3 separate regions of the Homo sapiens genome follow, and all the other regions are linked to region 2. Evidence: promoter capture Hi-C in human tissues and cell types (Jung and others, 2019). All regions are on one chromosome and are shown on one strand. The core of a region is centred on a gene start or on the middle of the fragment in contact, and the rest is flanking DNA. Distances in the headings are between cores, read along the strand shown. Region 1 holds the start of GARIN1B (golgi associated RAB2 interactor 1B). Region 2 holds the start of CCDC136 (coiled-coil domain containing 136). Region 3 overlaps FLNC (filamin C).

Region 1 (3,472 bases), core at 108-2,607, 76 kb before region 2:
CAGGAAGGGCATTTTCCTCTTAGCAGTGGAAGGATCTTCCTGACAGCCCTCCTTGCTTGCTTTCTGCCTGGCTCACTGCTTTCTCAGCAAGTTCCGGGAGGACTATGTCCTGGGGTTCCGAAAAGGGCTGGGGAATGTCCAGGCACGGATAAGGCACACAAGCTCTCTGGAGGAAAAGGGAGGCTCCTTTGCACTTCCCCTTCCTGCAGGTCTGTCCTGGTTTTTCATGATGTCATCCATTCATCATTGTGAGCTGACTGGTGGTCCCAGGGCTTGGCCAGCTGCCCAAGGCCAGGAGGGGAGACAGAGATCCCAGGACAAATGTGCAGCAGGCCCCTGAGCATGTGTAGAAATGTTGTCATCATTTCCACATAGAAAGACTTGGAGGAAATCAAAGAAGACAGTAAAAGTCACAAGATCCTATCCAACCTTCCCTTCCCTGAATGCCTGGGAAGAATTCAGGGGCCTCTTGCCTGTGGATGGAGAGCCGAACCCTGGAGCGGGCCTAGGTGTGGAGGAGGGACTGCTCTGCCGGGTGGTTCATTCTCCAGAATTCAACCTGTTTCTTGACTCCGTGGTGTTTGAAAGCAACTTCATCCAGGTATTCTTGGGTGGCGCAGAATAGCACTCTTTGATTCTTCGAAACCTGTTCCCAAGATATGACTGAGAGAGTCCATCCCTGAAACTGGGGCAGAGTGAGAATTGAGGCAAGGAGAAGCTAGTGGACCTGGAATGCAAGGCCACCCTCACTGACCTGGGCTTTGCTGAGCCCCAGACGGGGCTTCTCCTACAGACAGCTGTCACCCAGGGAGAAAGGTCAGGGGTCCTCTGCTCTGAGTGGAGAATTTGGTATCTAATCCCCCAGTTTACTTCAGCCCCCAGGCTGTCACCTGAAGTAGATGAACAAAGAGGCAGTAAAAAGAGACGCTTCTTGAGAACAATAATGCGGATTGGCGAAAGAACAGCACCTGGGGTCCCAGAGACAGCTGGGCTCAGATTCCAGTCCTCTGCCTTCTCCTTGGGAGGTGACTGTGCAAGTAACCTGTGCAGCCTGAATCTGGCCCCTTGATTGTAAAAGGGTTGAACTGACCTGAGGATGAAATGCAAATACAGCAAGAAAAGTACCTTGTCTAACAGGCACTCGGTGCACGTTCGTCTCCTTGCCTGGGCTCTCCTCTGGTTGGATGGAAGCGAGAATGAACAGCACTTTGGAGTTAGAGAGGACCTTCCTGTTCAGTGAAGGTGCAGGAGATAATAGGGCACCTCGGGGAAGGACCAAGAGGATACATTTTTCAAAGAAGGCCAGGAAACAGTCCAGGGAGGATTGGCAGAAATGACAGATGGCAGGGAACTCCTGGGTTGTAATTCCTGTGGGCAATTGTTAACAAATGGGTGGTTGAAATATTGTTTAAATACTAGTAGTTGTTTAATCAATATAGTGGCTATCAACAAGAATTGATTTTTGGCCCCAACTGCCAGGGAACATTTGACGATGTCTGGAGACATTTTTTATTGTCACGATTTGGCTGGTAGTGCTACTAGAACTAGTAGGTAGAGGTCAAGGATGCTACTAAGCATTCTTTAGTGTGCAGGGCAGTATCCTACCCTCAACAAAGAATATCCAACCCAAAACATTAATAGTGTCGAGGTTGAGAAACCCTGGGCTGAAACAGACTGCAGCTTTTGCCAAATGCTCAGGTTGTGCCTGGGGGCTGTGTTGCAGGTCAAAAGGGGCAGGAATTGGAGAGACGTCTACAAAGCTTCCAACACCATGGCCCTGGGGGTGACCTCCTCGGTACCCTGCCTGCCCCTCCCCAACATCCTACTCATGGCCAGTGTCAAATGGCACCAGGGGCAGAACCAGACATGGAACAGACCATCCATAGCCCCCAACATCTTCCTGAAGAGGTGAGCAATGCAGATGAGAATGGAGGACAAGAGGGGTGAGGGGTGGATGCAAAGTGGAGGTTGCTTGACTACTAAACTCAAGGAGAAGATAGAGATGTCATCAGCAGTGACATTGATTTTTTTAGACAACAGAGTATCCTAAGACAGGTGTTGCACTGGAAGGACAGAGGCCAAGTGGGACAAAGGGAGATGTCATGTGGACAGGAGTCAGGGGCTAGTCTACCTGCCCACTTTCTTTCTCGCTGCACAGACGCCACTGAATTCATAGGAAATCTCTCAGCATTGGGCCCAAGGGCAAGGAGGCAGTGAGTCTGGCAGATGGAGCACTGGTTGGGGAAAGGAGATTATTTCTAGTTCTTGGTGTACAACTAACTGGACTCAATTTTTAAAATCACAAGTTATTTGCTGCTCCTCAGTTTTCTTTGTCTTTTTCTTTTTCTTTCTTTCTTTTTTTTTTTTTTTGAGACTGAGTCTCAAAAAAGACTATCGCCCAGGCTGGAGTACAATGGTGGGATCTTGGCTCACTGCAACCTCTGCCTCACAGGTTTAAGTGATTCTCCTGCCTCAGCCTCCCGAGTAGCTGGGATTATAGGTGCCTGCCACCACACCTGGATAATTTTTGTATTTTTAATAGAGACAGGGTTTCACCATGTTGGCCAGGCTGGTCTTGAACTCCTGACCTCAGGTGACCCACCCTCCTCAGCCTCCCAAAGTGCTGGGATTACGGGCGTGAGCCACTGTGCCCGGCCAGGTTTTTTTTGTTTTTTTTTTTTAATCAGTAAAATAAATGGGACTAAGTCTCACTTAGAGCTGTAGCATATAGTGACATCATGCTTGTCTGGGACGAAGTAGCCTTTTTAAATTTTGGGGCCTCTTTAAATAATCTGTAGGATATCTCAAGAATCTCTAGAAATTCCCAAAAGTCCAAGAAAACCCTTCATTTCTCCATGCTACCTCAGTGACACACCTCTCCATGATGTTCTTGGTGTACCTCTAGCAAGTACCACCCAGTCCCAGCTGACTAATATTAGATCCAAAGCCAGATCCTTGAACTTTAACTCCCTTGGGAAGACTAACTGTGGCATTAAACTCAATAAATGCACAAGCCAGACAGTGGGGCAAGCTCCTTTGGTGCTTTCAAGAAAGAAATTTTGGCTGGGCGCGGTGGCTCGTGCCTGTAATCCCAGCACTTTGGGAGGCAGAGGCAGGTGGATCGCCTAAGGTCAGGAGTTCGAGACCAGCCTGACCAACATGATGAAACCTCGTCTCTACCAAAAATAAAAAATTAGACGGGCCTGGTGGCACATGCCTGTAATCCCAGCTACTGAGGAGGCTAGGGCAGGAGAATCGCTTGAACCTAGGAGGCGGAGGTTGCAGTGAGCCAAGATCGTGCCATTGCACTCCAGCCTGGGCAACAAGAGCAAAACTTTGCCTCAGAAAAAAAAAAAAAAAAGAAAGAAAGAAAAGAAAAACAGAAAGAAATTGTAAAATCCTATGACTAGCCACCTTACCTCCTAGGCTGTCTCTCTCAAATAGGGTCTAGGGCACACGAGAATCATGGCAG
Region 2 (2,987 bases), core at 315-2,814:
AGCCCTCGACCTGTGAGTGGATGTGCCAGAGAGGGGATCCGCGTGTGTCCCTGGCTTAGGAATCTTCCAGCCATTTCCTGGATGTGCTGGGGAGCCCCTGTTCCCAACTGTGCCCACTTCTATCCTTGCCGAGACCTGCCGAGATGTGAGAACTGCCTCTTCAAGAGCCGGCACCCAGTAGTCATAGCCTGAATAAACGAATGGTTGAAGACGTGAAATAAGCCCCCTGGGCTTCCAAATCTCCCTTCCACGAGAGTGAACATCAGTCGTGCCCACTCTGAGCGGGCTACTGTGGGGGCGTGGCTCGCAGCCCACCGGGTGTGGGACCGGAAGGGAAGACAGGGCGGAGGAGAGGGGGTCTTCCGGCCCTGAGGCTTGATGGGGCCACCGGAGGGCTCCTCCTAAGAGGGTCCTTGGCCCTGGCTCGGTGGGGGGTCGCGGAAAGCGGAGAGGTCAGGGCCCTGCCGTTCGCCCATCCGGGCCTCGACTTCCCTCCTCCGGCCCCCAGGCTGCCGAGGGGCCACCGGGCAGGGGTGGGCAGGGCCTGGGGCCGGAGTCAGCGCGGACTGCTAGGTGGGGGCGCCGGCCGGGCGGGGGAGGGAGGGAAGGAGGGGCGCGCGTGTCTGCGCTTTTGGAGGAAACAGTCCCACCTCGTCCTTTGCCGTCCCCATTGCTGAGCATGACCGGGCCCTGACACCTGGTGCAGAAGGGTCCCTGGGCACAGCAGACCCCGGGGGGACCCGCCGCCAGAACCAGGGGATCTCGCTCCTCCCTCTTGGGGCAGCCATAAGCCTAGGAGCTCCTGACGCTGTCCGGGCCCCGCGGCTCCCCGCGCTCTCTAGGGGAGAGCCTTGGGGCGTATCCGGGGTCGCGCTCACCCTCCCGCGCCGCCCCCTGCACGGGCTCGGAGCTCCCGAGTGCTGGGAGGGCTTCCGGGCGGCGGCGAGCGGCGGGGGGCGGTGTCAGGAGGCCCGGCCAGGCCCCGCCCCCTCGTCCGCCCTCCCTCCCTCCCTGCGCACCCGGCTCGGGTCCCCGGGCTCGCGGCTGCGGCTTCTGCTCAGGGAGGCGGAAGGCGGCGGCGGGAGCGGTCATGGAGGCGGGCGCCGGAGCCGGCGCGGGAGCCGCGGGCTGGAGCTGCCCGGGCCCAGGTCAGAGCCGCCCCTCCGTCACCTGTCTACCGCCCCTCCTTTCTCTCCTCCATCCCTCCTCCTTCCAGACCCCCAGGTGCTCCCGGCCTCCGCGGCTCCCCTTTCTCCGCCCAAAGTCTTCCTCCCTCCATCCTGGCCTCCACCGGGGCCCGGTCTCCATCCTTCCGGCCTGGGACTGAGGCTTCCGCGCACCGGCCGCATCCTGCCTGGTGGTCCCTCCCCAGCGCGTCTCTCCACTTCAGTCCGACGGTGCTTCCAGCCTTCGGGACTGCAGACCCTACACCTCCTGCAGCCCCGGAGACTCCTGAGCGCGGGGCGAGGGTGGGGTGGGCAAGGTCCAGCGAGAGAATGGGAGGAGAGGGGAGGGGAGCGGTCGCAGCCCTACCCCTTCCCGCACGCCCCCCACTCCTCCCTCCCTCCATCTGTAGGCCACCTCAGCCTTTCAGCCTCTTCTTCACTGGCTCCCGCCCTCTTTCAGTCTTGGCCCTCTCCTCCCTGTCCCCCCGGACTAAATACGCACACCCCCTCTTTCTTTCTGTGCAAGCAAGAGGGTCCTGGAACAGCGGGTTCTGAGGAGGCTGGGAGGCAGGGCTGAGAGGTGGCCGAGAGAGAGGAGTCGCAGAGCCGCCAGAGTGAGTCAGGCACCTCCACTGGGATTACAGATCCCAGAGCCTCGAGGAGCTGGAAGACATGTCCCCTTCTTTCCTCTGCACCCCAGCCCGCAGCCAGCCCCCCACCCCCCAGCCCCTCCTTTCTCCCTGCTCTCAGGACCCACAGTGACCACTCTAGGCTCCTATGAGGCTTCCGAGGGCTGTGAGAGGAAGAAGGGCCAACGCTGGGGGTCCCTGGAACGACGGGGGATGCAAGCTATGGAGGGTGAGTTTTCCCAAAAGGCTTCTTTCTTTCCCCTCCCCTCCTCCCTTAATTCCCTTCTTTCCTCCCTCTGACCCCCAGGCCTCTGAGCCAGGACACAGCCCTTCCCTCAGTTCATCTTAGCCCCTCTTCCTGCAGCTCAGAGCTCCAGCCCTTCCCAGGGCTCAGGCTTTGACAGAAGTTCAGGATGCATCCCTTCGGGACCCCAATCACCCCCCAGCTAACCAGGTTATGTGTCCCGAGGGAGCTGCCAGACAGAGAAAGAGGCCTTGTTGGACAGAGCTTTGAAGCAGCCTTTCAGCAGGGGGTTTGTCCTCACTGCCTGCCGACCCAGATCCCAAGCTGTCTCTTATTTTAAAAAGCAAGGAACTGGGCATGTGAATTGTCTTTCTGGGGCCACCAACATTAACTTCGAATGGAAGCCTGTGGCTTTGGTTCTTTAGGATACCTTATTGCCTGAAAGAGAGAGCCTAGGAGGGGGCGCGTGAGGCCATCCTCCCAACACACGTGTATCCCCACCACACCCATGTGACTTGGCAGTTGCTGCCAACACCAGGCCCCTGGAAGGACGCTGGTCCATTTGCCAGTACTTCCTGTGAAGTGTTGCACGTTGCACATTCAGTATGGGCAAACCTGCTCCCCCTAAGGGGGACAGATGGCACGAAGGGTCCCAGTTGAACCTAAGGCTGCTGATATTAGATAAAGTAAGACCAGAGATTCAGAATTTTAAAACAAAGCAAACAATCACCATCCAGACAACATTTTGCTATTTATAGGGACTGCGTTGCAGTAAAGGAGCGGGTGCTCACAACCAGAGGCTGGGGGCCAGCACCAAACCCCAGTTTTTTTAATGCATTAAAATGGTAGGCTTTCTTTTACACACAAGTACAGCCTAAAACTTCCCCTGAAATCTACTTTGTGGTCAGCAGAGTAGGAGGGGCCTCATATGGCTCAGCTAGGGGAGAG
Region 3 (3,142 bases), core at 82-2,581, 65 kb after region 2:
GCCTGTGGCCTCCCTCTCGGATGACGCTCGCCGTCTCACTGTCACCAGCCTCCAGGTTTGTGCCCAGGGTGGGGGTGGAGGGTTTCTGCTATCTGAGAGATGGGCAGGAGTTGAGGACAGCAGGTCCATGGGGCCAGGGATTTAGCAGTGACCTTGGAAGGGCCAGTTAGGAGTCCCTTCTCATAAGGCACGAGGCAGGGCCCTTGGGGACGGTGGGCTCCCACCCTGGGGGCTTGCCCGTGCACTCAGGCATGCCACGCCTCGTTCTGCCTTTCTCAGGGTGTGTCTGCCTGTCCTACTGCCACCTGCCATTTCTTGTTACAGTTTGTTCCACCTTCTGTTGTAAGAATGCTAGATGACAACATTTATAAGAATGAGAGCATAAAATCTATACAAACTAAGAGTAAACCAGTTTGCACAGAGGGTGTGAGAGGCTCCTCTAAAGGGAATGCCTATGGGCTGCAGAGCCTGGGCTGCATCCTCTTCAGGCCGCTGGGGGCCTGGCTTGCTTTCTCTTGCTGCTGACTTCTAGAGATGTGGTGTGTTCCTTTCATTCTGTCACAGCGGACATGTGCAAGGAAGGCTTTCAGCAAGTCACACTGAAACATGCAAACCAGGGGGCCAGGTGTCCAGGGGACACATTGTAAAGGAGCTTCTGCATAAGGCGCACAGAATGGGCTTCACCCCACCTCCTTCTCCCACGCGCCTCCTGGCTGCCCCTCAGGGTGGTCACATTGGCCCATCCAGAGTCCTTGTGCATCTCCTCCTCCCACTCCTGAACTGGGCTCCCCGATGCAGGCTCCAATCCCTCCCCCAGAGCCCTTCTGTGCTTCTTCTGGTCCTCCCTGTTGGTCCACCTTCTCCAGGAAGCTCTCCCAGGCCAGGCCAGTGAAACTCAGCTTCCTACCTCAGAGCTCTCTGGCACCCCCAGCCCACACAGCCCATCAGGCACTTGCCCTCCGCCCTCAGCCTGCTTCACACAGAGTGGGGCCCTTCCTTCCTCAGCCAGGACAGGGCACATCGTCTGTCATCTCCCACACACCAAGCACAGCTAGGATAGCAGGTGCACACATAGGGTTGCATACCGGACCCTGGCTCCTCCTGCTCCCAGGCTGGGCTGGCAGGCAGGGGCCAGGCTGGGCATGGGGTGGCAGCAGCCTTTGGGCTGGGCTTACAGTGAGCACCGTGTGGGGCTTCAGAGAAGACTGCTCCAGCCCCGGCCTCCCAGGAGTCTGAGCATCCTCCGTGGCCTTTGCAGGAGACGGGGCTCAAGGTGAACCAGCCAGCGTCCTTTGCCGTGCAGCTGAACGGTGCCCGGGGCGTGATTGATGCCCGGGTGCACACACCCTCGGGGGCTGTGGAGGAGTGCTACGTCTCTGAGCTGGACAGTGGTGAGCTGGCCCTGCCCCTGCCAACTCCCTTCCGGGCTGGGGCCTTCTGGGGAGGGGAAGGATGGAGGCTAAGCCACCAACCCTTTATCCACAGACAAGCACACCATCCGCTTCATCCCCCACGAGAATGGCGTCCACTCCATCGATGTCAAGTTCAACGGTGCCCACATCCCTGGAAGTCCCTTCAAGATCCGCGTTGGGGAGCAGAGCCAGGCTGGGGACCCAGGCTTGGTGTCAGCCTACGGTCCTGGGCTCGAGGGAGGCACTACCGGTGAGTGCCTGGAGCTGGGGAACAGGGTGACTTCTGGGGGTGCTTGGCCACTAGTCTGGTGCTGCTTTGCTCCAGAGGTAGGGGCCCTGCTTCCTAAGCCAGGAGTCCCCACAGAGGCTGTCCAGGGAGCTGGGGCCCAGTCCCTCTTGGGCCACAAGCCCTTCCTGCCCTCAGCCTTGCTACCTCTGGCCCCCAGGTGTGTCATCAGAGTTCATCGTGAACACCCTGAATGCCGGCTCGGGGGCCTTGTCTGTCACCATTGATGGCCCCTCCAAGGTGCAGCTGGACTGTCGGGAGTGTCCTGAGGGCCATGTGGTCACTTATACTCCCATGGCCCCTGGCAACTACCTCATTGCCATCAAGTACGGTGGCCCCCAGCACATCGTGGGCAGCCCCTTCAAGGCCAAGGTCACTGGTGAGTGCCAGTTTGGGGGAGGTCCACCCAGCCTGCAGCCCAGCCCAGCCTGGAGGGCTCCGGTGGCCACGCACATCTAGGCCATAGTCTGCCCCCAGACATCATGGTCAGTTTACCAGGGCTAGAGGTGGGCCTGGCTCTACACAGTACACGTTCTGTGGAGTCGGGCATGATCACGTAAAAATGCCATTCTTCCTCTCCATCGTGGCCCCTCACTCCTTCAGCTCTGGCCTGCGCTGGCTCCTCAGGCTCTAGCACCACTTTCTTCCCTCCTGGCTTCCCATATTCCTCCGCTCCAAGAAGACACAGTCGGTATTGAGCAAGCTTCCCCTCTTGAGGCTGTCTGTAGGATGAGTTGGGTGGGTGTTCCTTTGTAAAGTGGCTCTTACCCTGTGAGTTAGCCTGAGTTCCCAGACAAAGCCTGCAAGGATGAGGGACGCAGCATCTGAGGCCCCAGCCCTAGGGTGGAGCACCAGTTGGAGCTGGCAGCTCAGGGCCCTGGCTGGGAATGAGGCTGTGCTCCTAGAGTGGCCCTTGGAGGAATTTGAGGGGGAGCCTCAAATGCAGGCAGTGAGTCCCACAGGGTGGCAGTGCTGGCCGAGGGTCCCCTGCCTGGGGAAGAACAGGAAGCCCTTCTGACTAGGTTTGTGCCCCCTCCACCCACCCCTCAGGTCCGAGGCTGTCCGGAGGCCACAGCCTTCACGAAACATCCACGGTTCTGGTGGAGACTGTGACCAAGTCCTCCTCAAGCCGGGGCTCCAGCTACAGCTCCATCCCCAAGTTCTCCTCAGATGCCAGCAAGGTGGTGACTCGGGGCCCTGGGCTGTCCCAGGCCTTCGTGGGCCAGAAGAACTCCTTCACCGTGGACTGCAGCAAAGCAGGCAGGTGGCGGGGGGAGGGCGTCTCCCGGGGTGTGAGCAAGAAGCCGTCAGGGAGCAGGGTGTGGGTCACAGTAGGGGACTCCCTGGTGTGAGCCTGTCCCTCTGCCTCCCTCTCCAGGCACCAACATGATGATGGTGGGCGTGCACGGCCCCAAGACCCCCTGTGAGGAGGTGTACGTGAAGC

The links. Contacts are between HindIII fragments. The study calls those that stand out against the background at their distance.
Region 1: a contact is called between a fragment that was not itself captured here and the fragment with the promoter of CCDC136 in region 2, in 4 of the 25 tissues and cell types used here (bladder, heart right ventricle, mesendoderm cells and 1 more).
Region 3: a contact is called between a fragment that was not itself captured here and the fragment with the promoter of CCDC136 in region 2, in 2 of the 25 tissues and cell types used here (bladder and thymus).

What each region holds. Positions count from the first base shown.
Region 1 is chr7:128,715,090-128,718,561 of GRCh38, forward strand. GARIN1B (golgi associated RAB2 interactor 1B) reads left to right here and starts at 302. Exons shown (of 7, transcript NM_001282788.3): 1 at 302-601; 2 at 1,724-1,908. The coding sequence starts at 353. The HindIII fragment of the contact is 6,852 bases long and covers 1-3,472 here.
Region 2 is chr7:128,790,404-128,793,390 of GRCh38, forward strand. CCDC136 (coiled-coil domain containing 136) reads left to right here and starts at 1,565. Exons shown (of 18, transcript NM_022742.5): 1 at 1,565-2,024. The coding sequence starts at 2,009. RefSeq lists silencers at 672-1,141, 680-948. The HindIII fragment of the contact is 16,505 bases long and covers 1-2,987 here.
Region 3 is chr7:128,855,260-128,858,401 of GRCh38, forward strand. It overlaps FLNC (filamin C), which reads left to right. Exons shown (of 48, transcript NM_001458.5): 43 at 1-55; 44 at 1,259-1,391; 45 at 1,486-1,662; 46 at 1,859-2,077; 47 at 2,749-2,958; 48 at 3,077-3,142. The region is part of intron 1 of FLNC-AS1 (FLNC antisense RNA 1); the gene reads right to left. Among named protein-coding and RNA genes, the nearest start is that of FLNC-AS1, 5.8 kb to the right of the region's middle. RefSeq lists an enhancer at 2,934-3,142. The HindIII fragment of the contact is 9,938 bases long and covers 1-3,142 here.